Linked DNA regions of Homo sapiens: regions 1 and 2 are each linked to region 3. Evidence: promoter capture Hi-C in 16 types of primary human blood cells and fetal thymus (Javierre and others, 2016). All regions are on one chromosome and are shown on one strand. Each heading gives the region's core, a stretch centred on a gene start or on the middle of the fragment in contact. The rest is flanking DNA. Distances are from core to core; before and after follow the strand shown. Region 1 overlaps DHRS9 (dehydrogenase/reductase 9). Region 2 overlaps DHRS9 (dehydrogenase/reductase 9). Region 3 holds the start of CERS6 (ceramide synthase 6).

Region 1 (4,659 bases), core at 52-2,551, 620 kb after region 3:
TTCTGGGTGGACCATTTGAACACATTTCTCACAGAAACATAATTTTTTAGTTTATGTCAATAGGTTCCAGTGTTCATTTTTTTTTAAGTGTGGAAGAAATCTCTAAAAGCCACCTGGGTTTTTTTTTTTTTTTTAAACAAAACAAAACAAAAACCAGTTTTTTTTTACTTCAATGAAAAGGAAAAAATGAAAAAGGAATGTTGTGTTAAGTCAACCGGGTTTACAATATTCAAATATACAAGAGGCATACATGTTCAGTGGCTTTCAGTATTCAGAAAGCCATGCAAGAGAACTCCAAAAAGAGAATACTTTAGAAAATCATTGCTCAATGTTTTCTATTTGATGTATTTTGGTAAACAACATAGTTGTTGATTCAACTTGGGCCACAATTGCAACACATTGGAAGTAAATAAAGATTCTACAAACTCCTGACAGTGTGGTTGACTAGCTTTGGTATCGCTTTCTAAAAGGAAACACTTCATGAAGTTATGTGGAAATAAAATCAACTGGTCTGGGAGGAACTATCTAGAAAGAACTCTACATTGCTTATAAAAAGTATACCTCACAATAATATTGAGATATTTTCTGTTCTTTTTTTTAAACTGTGTCATTTATTTTTAAGAAACAGAGGAAGGTGAATAAGAGAAGTGAAATTAAATAATCCTATTTTAACTTTTTTACTAGGAAAACAAACTCAGGAAGAAAAAGAAAAGCAGAAGTGATCAAGGAGAGCGCTCGAGTTGCAATATTTTCCTTTGGCTGCTGACAGGCAGTTACTATAAAGCATTGTGCATGGTGTATGAAAGACAAAACTAGTTCTCCTTTCTTGGTTTCTTTTGAATCTTTGTGATATGGTAGAGAAAGTTTGATAAAGTGTTCTTGTGCCTGCTGTCGACTGATAATGTGTTCATCTCTTTGCAGTTCTTCCTTCTCTTTCACACAGTTTAGAGTTCAGAGAGTTTTAGTTCTGGTCACTCTCTGGCAAGTGACCATAGTTATGACCTCTACTCTACACCAGAAATATCTTGACAATTACATGAGATAAATATTACATAAACACTTCCCAAAACTTTGTAATGTTATCAAAATTGGAAGTGTGAATATTATGTATTATTATAATTGCTATCATCCTTTTGCCCCAGCGATTCAGAGGTCTCAAAGATTAATCCAATTATCACTAGAACTCTGGAGCTACAGTGGAGACTTCCTTCTTTCCTTCCTTTTTTCCTTCTTTGCTGTACAACATTTACTAAACATCAACATAATGCCAAGTATCATACAAGGAACTGGTAATGTAGAGAAGTATATGCAGAGCCCAGAGTTGAGTGGGAATACAGACTGCAGTGGTAGAACAGAATGGTCTGGGTATCAGTCCCGGAATTGCCACTACAACTGTAGCTGGAGCCAATTAAACAGAGCTTCTGAATGTGTTTCCTCCTCTATACAGTGAAGATAATTTTGTCGTAAGGTGTAAATAAGATAAATATTTATAGATCCTAGGAAACGGCCTACAACATGTTAGGCACTCAATGAACCATAGCAGTTATTATCATTCCTCCCTGACTTGGTCAACCAGGAACTTGAGAATCATAGATTTGCTAGGAGGATATTTTGAATTCTGTAGGGTCAGTTGGCCACCCACCAAAGGGTACCCCCAGAGGAGCTGGGGGTCAACAGCATGGGGTAAACCTTGAGGGAGGGAACAGATGGGAGGTGATTGGATGAAGAGATTTGGGTGAGGACACAGAGCCAAACCATATCAGCCTCTTATCCTCCTGATGACAAAAAGACATTTTAAAATATTTATATAGAGGGAAATTAATGCTTGCAGCAGCAGGATATGAGTAATTTTTATAAGTAACCCAACTTTTCCATGAGGCCATTAAAAAAAGAAACTCATCAATGTGATACTACCAAGGAACCAATGACTAAGTTTCCAGAAAAGTAGTTCTAGTGCTATGATATTCTGGACTCCCAACACTAGGAAGTTCTAGAACAGTGGTTCTAAACTGGGGGATATTTTGTCCTCCAGGGGACATTTGGCATTATCTGGAGACATTTTTGGTTTTCACAACTTGGGGAGGGGTGCTACTGCTGACTAGAGAGTAGAGGCCAGAGATGCCACTAAACATGCTAAATGCACAGGACTGACCCCACAACAAATAATTACCTGGCCCAAAATATCAAAATTACTCAGTTAGAGGAATCAATGCCTAAATATGAGCAATACATAGAGCAGACTGCCTCATAAAGTGAAAGTGATTCACCCTGCCATGAAGATAACAAAGTTCTTACTGTAACGGCAGACATTAGGTCACTTCACCCAGTACTCTCCAAGGTAGATGTTGTATTTCTACTTTACAGGTAGGAAAATGGAGGCTAAGAAAAGTTAATTTGTCCGAGGGCCCTCTGATGATAGTGAAACTGGGATGGAACCTCTGCCTGCTTGCTTCTGAGGTCTGGGCTCCTAACTACTGCTCTACTGCCTCGAGCCAAGAGATTTACGCCCTATTAAGCAATTTGTTGTGCGATAAATTGGAAGACACAGCAGATAAGCAAACAACTCAAGCAACCAGGTCAGTTCCTGGAGTTTCTGAATTGTTGGGACCAAGGGGCCGTGCAGAGGTAACCACAGCTGGCGTAGTGTGGTTGAGGTAGCCCTATTAGCCTTTTAGTTGCTGTTACTAATTTATTTCTCAGTGGTCAATGAACCAATTGGCCATCAATCAGCTTTGTGTATAGGTCATGTTCCCATGGCTCTGACCCAGGTTGCTGCTCAGAGTTGGCATCGTGGCTAAAATATTACTAGAGGTCAAAGATATGTGTGTGTTTGTGGTTGATTTAGTCGAGTGATCTAGAGGAATCTGAACCAGCATTTCTGGGCAATAATACTTGAGTTAAGGAGAGTGTAGCAAAACTCTAGGTTAGCATTGGCAGTCCCTAGGATTCAGACTGTAGGCCTAAATGACCCTCAGTCCAGAGCTGTACCTAATGAGGACAATACATTTTAATGTGAGTCCATTCTTAACAGCAAAATTTCCTCTTTGCTTGTCACCAGGGAAAAATGGGTTTGCATAGAAAAGGTGGAGATTGAGGGGGAAGCAGAATGGACAAGGAGTAAAGAGGGAATCCAACTACTTAGATTTGAGCTTTCGTTCTTCTTTGGTAGTTGTAGAGGTGAGCTTACCAAAGCATAGATGACAGGCAATGTGGTATACAAGTTACTACACTCCAAAAGTCTGGGGTTCTTACTTATTTTGTGCATGACATCCAAAGTAGCCTAATAAAATCTTTTCACAGAAAAAAAAGCTTTACTTTCCTTTGCCAAATTTTTAACTTTTTATTCTGAAATAATTTCAGAATTATTGAAAAATTTAGAGACTAGGACAACCCAGATTCCTCAAATATTAACACTTTACCACATCTGCCTTCTCATTCCTCTCTATATACATAGGTGCATGTGTGGTTTTAATGTTTATTTATATACATATCATTATTATTTTCTTAACTGTTTGAGAGTAAGTTGAAGACATGATGCTCCTTACTCTTTAAATACTTCAGTGTGTATTTCCTAAAAAGCAGGCCATGTTCTACATCATCACAGTATAATTATCAAAATTGGGAAATTAATATTAATGCAATACTATTTATCAAATTTTAAGATCTTATTCAAATTTCACTTGCTGGCCTAATAATGTTCTTTCTGAAAAAAGAAAAAAAAATTTTGATCCAGGATCACATATTGCATTTGGTTGTTGTATCTCGTTGGTCTCCTTTGATCTGAAATGGTCCTCAGTATTTCTTTTACTTCATGACTTTGATGTTTTTGAAGAGTACAGCCATATATTTAGAAGCACTGGAAGATGTTTCCCCATGCATAATTAGCTTTGGATGCTCCACAGAAGAGCTGTTGTGTCCTTCCCTGTGTGCCATCTCAGGGGGCATGCGATGTTGGTTTGTTCCATAACTAGTGATGTGAATCCTTATCACTTGGTTAAGGTGGTATCCGTCAGATTTCTCCACTATAAAATTACCATTATTCTCTCTTTAATTTGAAAGTATATGACAGGGAGATTCTTTGAGATTCTATAATGACTGTCTGTCATCGGAATTTGACCCACTAGTTTTAGCATCCATTGATCATTCCTGCCTGAAACCATTGTTGCTATGTCAGTTGCCAAATGGTGATATTCTAATTCCATCATTCGTCTGACACTTATTAGATGGCATATTAATTCTAAGGAAAAATTTCCATTTATCCTTATTTATTGATTGATTTACTTCAGAATGGATTCATGAATTCATATCTGATTTAATGAGTTATTACCCATTATCACTATTGGCTTTGATGCTCAAATTGTCTCTTACTTCGCCAGTGGGAGCCCCTTCCAGCTGACATCTATGTACTAGTGATGTATCTCCAGCATTCGTTGAGCACTTACTTACTTGTAGCATAAGATGCTCCAGGCTTATTTTGTACATTCGCCTCCAAGCTCAGCCCTGATGTTAGCTTTTCCAAAGAACATGAACACAATGTTTAGAAATTGGTTTCTGAGCCCTTGGTATGTTCATTGTTGTTGGAGTGTCATTGTTTCTAGCTCATCGGGTAGATCTAGAAAGTTACCTATCCATTTTTGTATTTACTGACTCATATTAAAA
Region 2 (4,290 bases), core at 1,432-3,931, 630 kb after region 3:
TGGTCTATGGAGGAGGAGTAGCATCAACAATTCAAGACTGTCTTTCCTACCCTCTTCAGGGCCTCTTTCAGTGATATGAAGTTAAAGTGATATAAAGTTAGGGACTGTGATCACTCATCTGATTTTTGGTTTTATGAAGGTTTTTTTGCATGAATAGTTGTTTAATTTGGTGTTCCTGTGGGGAGGATGATCAATGAAGGCTTCTATTTGGCCATCCTGCTCCACCTCTACCCTATTTAGTACTTTAAGTTATTCCCAGTGTATAGATGATGCCACTAAAACTAAAAGAGTTTAATTAATTTGCGCAAGGTCACCCAGCTGGTAAGTGGCAGAACTGAGATTTGAACCCAAGTTTAACTCCTTTTTACTTTTTGCCTTAATACATGATGCTCAGAGTGGCAGCGAATTTATATTCAACTGGTCAGTTTGTCAGATATTTAGGGAATCATATAGAAAGGCTAGATCAGAATAGGCTTCTCCATTGGTTTACTGTCAGTTGCAGACACAACAGTACCACCCTATTTAAACCTTCAGTAGAAAACCATTAGTTCTTAAATAGCTTCTCCAAGCATGCTGTCCAAGCTTTATAGCTTCATTCCGTGGGAGAGACTGGGGGAAGTGTGCTTAATCCATCTTACCTGGAACCAGAACTTATCACCATCAGTTCAAATCCCCTAAAGTACAAGTGGTTCTTTCAGTCAAGATTCTGGCAGGAAATGGTGGCACATTAAAACTGGGTAAAAGGCAGAGAGTATGCTTAAAGGACTTATAAACATGTGTGAGGTATCTACTGAAATCTCAAAGGATACAATCTAGGGGCTAATGACAGTAGGTGTATTTCTCTTCAGAGGACTGAAGGGACAAGGAGACAGGGCAGTTTCCAGAACCTGGAGACGCAGAGGCTGTTGTTTTCAGTTAAGGGATAAAAATAACCAGTGTTGACACCACAGGAGGATAACTACTCTGACCCCCTCACCTCTTTCCTGATCCCCCACTGGCACTTTCAATAGACTGAACTCAACAGAAGCCAGAGTATACTTAGTGCAGGTAAGATTCCCAGGATATGATGCAGACAGAGGGTGGAGGAAAGGACTAGAGAAGCAAGCGGAAGATATTCAGCTGAGTGGTGCCACAATAGGCAAGTGAGAAGACAAAGTTAGTTATAGTTTTTCCTTTGATTCATCCATTTATTTATTTGACTATTATTTGTTGAAGGCATATGTTAGAGTTTATGATTTATACCATGGACCTAGGTTTAGTTTACTAATAAAAGGTTAAAATTACTCCACTGAAATTAATAAAGATAGAGCAACTTCATTTTGCCATTTGATCAGGTTGCCAAGTTTGATTCTCCTAGGAAATAAGCACAAAAATATTGGAACAATTCTTCCAAAAAACTAATGTGCATTTGAATCACCTGGGGATCTTTTCAAAATGCAGATTTTGATTAAGTGGATCTGGAGAGGAGCCTGAGACCCTGCATTTCTAACAAGCTCCAGGTGCTGCCCATGGTTCAGGGATCACACTTTGAGTAGCAAGGTCATAAAAAAACCTCCATTGGTCTCTTTGGTTGACCTTTGTTTCCACTCTACAACCAGCAGTATCATAATAAAATTGTAGTATATGTAATTAGAGATTTACTCACTTTTAAAAAAGATTTCAACTGAAGGGTTTGTGAGCTTTGCCATGCAGGTATGCCATGCCTAATAGTAATCAATAAAGAGTATTTTTCTTAAATGAATCATGGAACTAGTATTTTAAATGGTGTTATGTAGGTGCGCCACAATCCAGTGTCAGCGTCACAATTTCTATATATAGGAGGGTTTAGGGGCAGCAGTCCATTTGAGAGAGGGTTGGGGCTCCTTAAAACTGTATTTTCCCAGCATGCATACTGATTTAATATGGTTTTTACTTACCTGGTAAGCTTAGTTGGAGGGCGTAAGGCCACTTGTCCCTAGTACGTTATTTTTATGAGTGGGTGGGGAGAAAAGTCTTCCTAAATAGCCTCTTGGCACTGCTACTTCCACAATCTAGAGGAAATTGGGCAACAGGTGAATAAAACAAAAGTAAGTTGGGAAATAATCTTTTTTAATTTTAGTACAAGTCATATACCTTACAGAATATTTCAAGGTCAAGCTAACTTGCATTTTTAGTAAAATATATTTCAAACTTTACAATAATAACGTTGCTAGAAAGCAGAACCTAAGAAAAAATAAATTACATTTTAAGTCCACTAATAGAGCTTTTAAAAATCTTATGGTGAAGAGTTTTATAAAATGAATAAATACTTCCTTATATTATATATTCCTGGTAGGAAAATAAATCAAATTTAGGAAACGACTATTCATATACTGGTTTGCTGTACAGGTGGTCCCTGACTTGCAATGTTAAACATGACTTTTCAACTTTACAATGGTGTGAAAGTGAGATGCATGCATTACAAACTTTTCTTAGAATTTGGAATTTTGATCTTTTACCAGCAGCAATATGTACAATACTCTCTCGCGATGCTGTGCAGTGGCAGTAAACCCCAGCTCCCCGTCAGCCGTTGCAATCACAGGGCAAAGAACTGCTATGCTGCAGGGCACTGTGTGGCCAGATGATTTTGCCCCATTGTGGGCCAATGTAAGTGTCCTGAGGACGTTTAATGTAGGCTAGGCTAAGCCATGATGTTTGACAGGTTAGGTATATTAGATGCATTTTTTGACATAGGATATTTTCAACTTACAATGAGTTTATCAGGATGTGACCCCACAGGAACATCTGTATATTGGTTTGCTTTAAAGAAAGGGGCACCATGATTCCTGTAAAACCTTGATGCCTAGGGAATGAGTAGGCTTTTAGTTTTCTGCTGCAGCATGATATAAAATAAAATAAAATAAAATAAAATAAAATAAAATAAAATAAAATAAAATAAAATAAAATAAAATAAAATAAAACTTGCTCAACAGCATAGGGAGCAGGTTAGTCACATCAGGGATTATCGTATTGTGTCCTTCAGCACATCCTCATTTGTGCTGCAATCTCCTTATGTTGCTAGAATGGAGGTGAACTTGTCCATCCAGGCTATCATTAGTTCATTTCACCATAAGGTGGTTTAAGTACTGATAAGAAACCTGTTCATAACCTGAATGTCCACTTAGTCAATGATGAGAGCGTGGAGAACACTCTAGGAAGAACAACAGTGGACTGGGGGTGGTGTCCACCCAGATCCCTTTCCTGTCCTGCCGTTAACTAGTCCTCACTTCACCACTCTGAACCTCAGTTTCCTCACTTGCAAAATGAAAGGGAGAGAGAATAAGATATTTCTTTCAAATGCACCCAAATCTGTGATTCCATGAAAAGATTCGTGAGAAAATAGTCACTCAAATAGCAAATATTTTCTAAACAAACCCGGATTAAACATCTTCAATGGGTTCTTTTCACAGACGGGACATGAAAGCTTTTGGTGTGCACGTCTCATGCATTGAACCAGGATTGTTCAAAACAAACTTGGCAGATCCAGTAAAGGTAATTGAAAAAAAACTCGCCATTTGGGAGCAGCTGTCTCCAGACATCAAACAACAATATGGAGAAGGTTACATTGAAAAAAGTGAGTTTCCGGGCGGTGCCAATGTCCTCTAGAATTCTTTGTCCTGAACAGCATGAAGGAGATTCAAATACAGATGAAATAACAAGGTTCTGAGTAATACCCCAATAAGGATCTTAACCATGGATCAGGGATCTCCTATTAATTTCAGTGTCATCTCTTGCTTCTGTTTATAAACATTTACTGAGCAATTACAAACTGCCAAGTTATCTGCTAAGTGTCTTATGAATTATATTATTTACTCCTCAAAAACTATTAGAGTAATGAGCAGAGGCTTGAGAAAGTGAAATGTCCTGCTCAAGATTACACAACACCTCCTAGTCATGCCTGGACCTGAGCCCAGGAAGGCAAGTCGAGCCACGGTCTTCACCTTTGCCATACCTCCTCTTTTCCTCAAGCACCAGCTGTACACTTGGCATTAAGGATTTATGGTGGTTACAAAAGATGGAAAAGGTTCAGCCTCTGACCTTTAGTTTACAACCTAGTTGACAACAAGAAGTAACCAAGCGAGAATGTAAAACAATGAAATAATGTAGCACACAATAAAATTAATCCTTTACTTCTTAGGTGTAATCTAACAGCCCAGAAATGGTGCTAGATGGTGTGGTTTCTAATTCCCCAGGGAATTTAGACCAGGAAAAGAGCATGGCTGGTTAAGCCCTAATGGGGCAGGTCAGGTTTGAATAAGAGGAAAGGACAGG
Region 3 (4,620 bases), core at 740-3,239:
TTGGAGGGCATACAGATGTCATTAAAAGCCACGAGACTGGATAAAATCACCAAATGAATACATTCAGATAGAAAAGTGAAGAGGAAAAAAGACTGACTCCTAGGCCACTATAACTTCTAGGGGTTAGAAAAGTGAGGAGTAACCAGGAAGGAGACTGAGAAGAAATGGCCATGAAGGAGGAAGAAACCCAGAAGAGTGAGGTTTCTGGAAGCCAAGTCAAGAATGTTTTAAGACACACGACCTGACAACTGGGCCAAATGCTACTGACAGAGGTGTTGTGAACTGCTATGAACTGAATGTGTGTGTCCCCCAAAATTCATATGCTGAAATCCTAGTTCCCAATGTGATAGTATTCAGAGACAGAGTCTTTGGGAGGTAATTAGCTAATGAGGGTAGAACCTTCATGAATGGGATTAGTGCCCTTATAAGAAGATAGGGCACTAATCTGTGTTTCCTCTTTCTGTGCTCTCTGCCATGTGAGGATACACAAGAAAACAGCTGTTTTCAAACCAGGAAGAGGATCCTTGCCAGACACTGGATCTGCCTGCATGTTGATCTTGGACTTCCCTGCCTCCAGAACCGTGAGGAATAAATTCTGCTGTTTAAGCCACCTAGTCTAAGCAGCCTGGACTAAGATAAGAACTGACCTTTGTGTTTAGCAGCATGAAGATCACAGGTGACCTTGGGCAGTTTCAATGCAGCAGAGGAGACAAATGTCCAAATGGAAGTTCAAAAGAAAATGAGGGGAGAGAAATTGGAAGCACCAGTATAGGCCATTCTTCAGTTTCACTTTCAAGAGATAGAGTGGAAAGAGGGGAGGGAAGAGTAAAAGAAACTCCCTCTCTCTGTGTGTGTGTGTGTGTGTGTGTGTGCGGTTATATGCCCACTGGAAAGGTTTAGTATAGCCTACTGGCAGCACCAGGCAGAAAATGAATGTGAGAAAAATGAACAAAAATGCCCCAGAACCATGTATACATGGGCCATGGAATGAATTCACACATGGCTCCTGTATCAATGGGGAAATGCATTGCGGGAGGGAAGGTGCCTGGGTTAGGCCTCACAGGCCTAATGCCTTAAAGGTTTTAGATTCAAAAGGCAGAAATAATGAGCCTGCCGAGTAGCACAGTGGAGGTTCTCATGATGTGCCAGGTCAAAATGTGGTCTAGCAGCCTTTTCAGAGAGGTTAGTTGAGAGGGGTGGTTTTACAGAACGCTGCAGTTGCTATCATCATCATCATCATCATCATCATCGTCATCAAGTAGCAATTAATAATCAAATAGCAATTAAGTGCCTAATTTTTTGTACCACCTCATAAATCAATATAGGGGGGCTTGTTCCCTGGGGGAGCTACTTTGATGAGAAGCAGCAGTATAAAAGACCGGAAAGTCAAAGATTGGGGAAAGGCAGGCGTGGGGCAGAGGCAGAAGGCTCTTGCCAAACCATCCTGCCTCAGTTCCTGATTTTTCACCCTGCCTCTCCAAGCGCGGGAGTGGAGGATCCTTTCCCTCCCACTTCCTCCTTTGCTCTTTACCCCTCCCCCTCCCCCCCCCTTTTTTTTTTTTTGCTGTCCTCCTGGAGCAGGGCTGGTTCTGAAGCTTGGCGGCAGCCCCTACCTGCTGACCCACCGCCTCCGGGCGCACGGGAAGAGGACTGAGAGCCCTGAAACCCCAGCGGGGCAGGAGCCAGCATTCTGAGCATGTGCGAGCCAGCCAGGGGGCTAGGGCGGATTTGGGGGGTCGACTTTAGGTCGTCGCCCTAAGCGCAAAGCGAAAGAGCGGTGAGAGCAGGGGCGGGCGACACTCCCCGGAGCGGTGCCCCTGCGCCCAGGGCGCAGCGACTGCGCCCTGCCCTGCGGGTGTGGGCGAGTTGGCCGCGTGTGTGCCTCGCTGTTTGACGCGAAGACGAGCCAATCAGGGCGGGCGGCCCGAGCTGCCATGTGACGGGCAAGGCGGCCCCTTTCCCCAGCGCGGCCAGAGGGAGGAGAGAACCGGGGCTCGCCGCGAGCCTTCGAGAGCAGCGGCCGCGGAGGAGGCGGCGGCGGCGGGCGGGAGCAGCGGCGGCGGCGGCACAGGCTCGGGGCCAGCCGGGCGCGCATCCCCGGGCGCCCTGCGCGGTGGAGAGCTTGGCGGGCTGCGGGTGCCGCAGGACAGGAGTGGACAAAGCAAGATGGCAGGGATCTTAGCCTGGTTCTGGAACGAGAGGTTTTGGCTCCCGCACAATGTCACCTGGGCGGACCTGAAGAACACGGAGGAGGCCACCTTCCCGCAGGCTGAGGACCTCTATCTCGCTTTTCCCCTGGCCTTCTGTATCTTCATGGTGCGGCTCATCTTCGAGAGGTAAGAAGGGCTGAAGCCCCTCCTCCCCTCCCCCTGCGCACACACACGCGCGCACACACTCGCGCGCTCTCTGGCGCACGCCCCCGCGCCCCCAACGCTCGCGTTCACGCCTCCCAACCTTTGTGTTCGGGGAGGGGTTGCTGACCCCCCTGCCCCGCTGGCTTTCTGGGAGCCAGAAAGGGTCTGGCTTGCCACGGATTTCCTCCCGGGCGCCGGGGAGGAGCCGCGGAGCGTTAGGGTCGCCCCCTGCCCTCCTCCTGGGCCCTGCTCTCCTCCCGGCAAGGGCAGGCGAACAAAGGTGAGCGGTGGTCGGGCTCAGGACCCGCCGCATTCCGCGGGGCTCGCCCCTCTCCGCCGGCGCGCCACGCAAGGCTGCCAGGCAGGGCTTCCCGCCGGGGCCCGCGCCACCCACCTGACAGCCAGGAACGTTCCGGACGCGCGGCCCGGAGGGAGGAGGAACCGCGCACACTTCAATCTTTATGCTCCGGCACACGGATTGTAGGGGTTGTGCTTCAAAAGAATTCGCCAGGGACTTCCTGGCTTCTGGTCGCTGTTTGGTTTTTATCCGTGAAACTATCAGGCCCACAGTCCTGGCAAATAGGGGATAATAGCATTTCAGGTTATTAGCGGTTTCTTTAAAAGAGGATGTGACAGGACGGGTCCACATCCTGCAAAATGGTGATATTAAACTGATAACCCTGTCCTGTGAATAATCATAAACTTCTTTTTTGGTACTCGAAGGCACTTAAAATTTTGAGGAATTGTCATGCAATTGTATAGTTCCTCGGTTTGGTTGGATATCTCCATTGTGTCACATACAAACTTGTGTTATTCTCATGGAATTCGTTTTCGTCGCGAAACTAGATTGTGCCTGCCATGCATTCTCTGGGTGCTACTGAAAGAAAACCAGGACAGCAGCACACTTTTTTTTTCGTAACAGAAAATATTATCTTCCCCTTTCTTGTACCCTCCCCTTCCTCTGCCCAATTCATCAGTAAAGGCTGAATTTCTTAGATCACAAAGTAGAGTTTAGATTGCATTTCTCGCTTCCACTCCGCCTTTCTTCCCCGCCTTCAACTCACCTTGGTTTTGTTTCTTAAGCTTTTGCTGGTACCTCATTTGCTGTTCCTCTTTGCCTGAAAACGACTGTTGAGGGTGGCAGAACGCGTCTTTTGAGTCATTTGCTGCTGGACGAGGCAACAAAGCTTCATGGGGACAAAAAGTATCTTTTGTCTCAGGAAGGTATATTTTTCACCGGACAGTATTGTTGCTTGAAAACGAAGTCAGCTGTTCGCCTGCAGAAATTGACATGCACAAAGCAACAGACTTTAAGACCTATGTTTAAATTATTGGAATCTAATACAGATGTGTCATTGATCCTATACAAAAAAGGATCAAAAAAGTCACAGCAGTGCTGTGAAAAAATGGGTGTGTTTGCAGGTGTAGAGTTACCTCTAGAGCAAATGTTTGGTTACAGAAAATATGAACTCTATACAGTTTTGCAGGCTCTCCAAAAACAAGCAGACTCAGGGATAGCAGGTTTGCTCTATGTTGGCACATAGTAGGGGATCTACACACAATTGCTGAATTATGATAAATTGTGTCTGATAAATTCTGGCTGGGCTCACTTTTAGATAGATAATGCATTTGAAAGAGATGTGCAGTCTTATGTGTTGGAGAACAAAAGCATGATCTGTGCACAAACAGCCGAATTTTCCTGACATCCTCCTTCTCTATGCTGATTCCAGGCTGTTCACTGTGTTTAAAAAAATTAAGTTGTTAGAATGGAGATGGCTTTGTACTTAGATTGTCTCTGCCTCTAAAAAGATAAACACTAATGTGATAGTTGAAAACTGGAAGTTCATTTTTCCTCTTTCTAAACATTTTTTATTTTCTTTCTTTTTTTCCATAATCCCATGACTCGACTTAGAGTTTACATAGAGGGGTGAGCTGCTTTCAATTGTCAGTCACAGCAAATGTCCTCATATTGATATAAAGTGAGTTGGTCAGTTTCCTTCAGGCCATTGATCTAAGTAGAAGAGATTTAATGGCCTGTATGGAAAGTGAAAGTTTATGGTTAATGTTCAGAATAATAATCCAATATGGCACATATGTCACAGAATGCTACTGACTTTTGGAAGACTATCTACTTTGTTTCTTCCTATGATAGCTCTGTCTTTAACCATTCAGACCTTCTCAATTCTCTGAAAATCCACAATTTAGTTGTATCTAGAGTTAGAAGTTCTGCATGTTTCTCCTCTTCTCAAACCTAAATGACATATTC

What was found. The method cuts DNA at HindIII sites, captures the fragments that hold promoters and counts their contacts. A CHiCAGO score of 5 or more calls a contact.
Region 1: a contact is called between a fragment that was not itself captured here and the fragment with the promoter of CERS6 in region 3, in 1 of 17 cell types (monocytes). The highest score is 7.2, in monocytes.
Region 2: a contact is called between a fragment that was not itself captured here and the fragment with the promoter of CERS6 in region 3, in 1 of 17 cell types (M1 macrophages). The highest score is 5.3, in M1 macrophages.

The regions. Positions count from the first base shown.
Region 1 is chr2:169,071,891-169,076,549 of GRCh38, forward strand. The region is part of intron 1 of DHRS9 (dehydrogenase/reductase 9); the gene reads left to right. Among named protein-coding and RNA genes, the nearest start is that of DHRS9, 4.7 kb to the left of the region's middle. The HindIII fragment of the contact is 4,011 bases long and covers 1-3,307 here.
Region 2 is chr2:169,088,362-169,092,651 of GRCh38, forward strand. It overlaps DHRS9 (dehydrogenase/reductase 9), which reads left to right. Exons shown (of 5, transcript NM_001376924.1): 4 at 3,429-3,592. Among named protein-coding and RNA genes, the nearest start is that of DHRS9, 21 kb to the left of the region's middle. The HindIII fragment of the contact is 1,518 bases long and covers 1,923-3,440 here.
Region 3 is chr2:168,454,283-168,458,902 of GRCh38, forward strand. CERS6 (ceramide synthase 6) reads left to right here and starts at 1,990. Exons shown (of 10, transcript NM_203463.3): 1 at 1,990-2,336. The coding sequence starts at 2,167. LOC102724081 (a long non-coding RNA gene) reads right to left here. Exons shown (of 4, transcript XR_002959433.2): 1 at 2,749-4,620. RefSeq lists silencers at 1,582-1,801, 1,832-1,921, 2,042-2,171, 2,622-2,681. The HindIII fragment of the contact is 1,842 bases long and covers 1,594-3,435 here.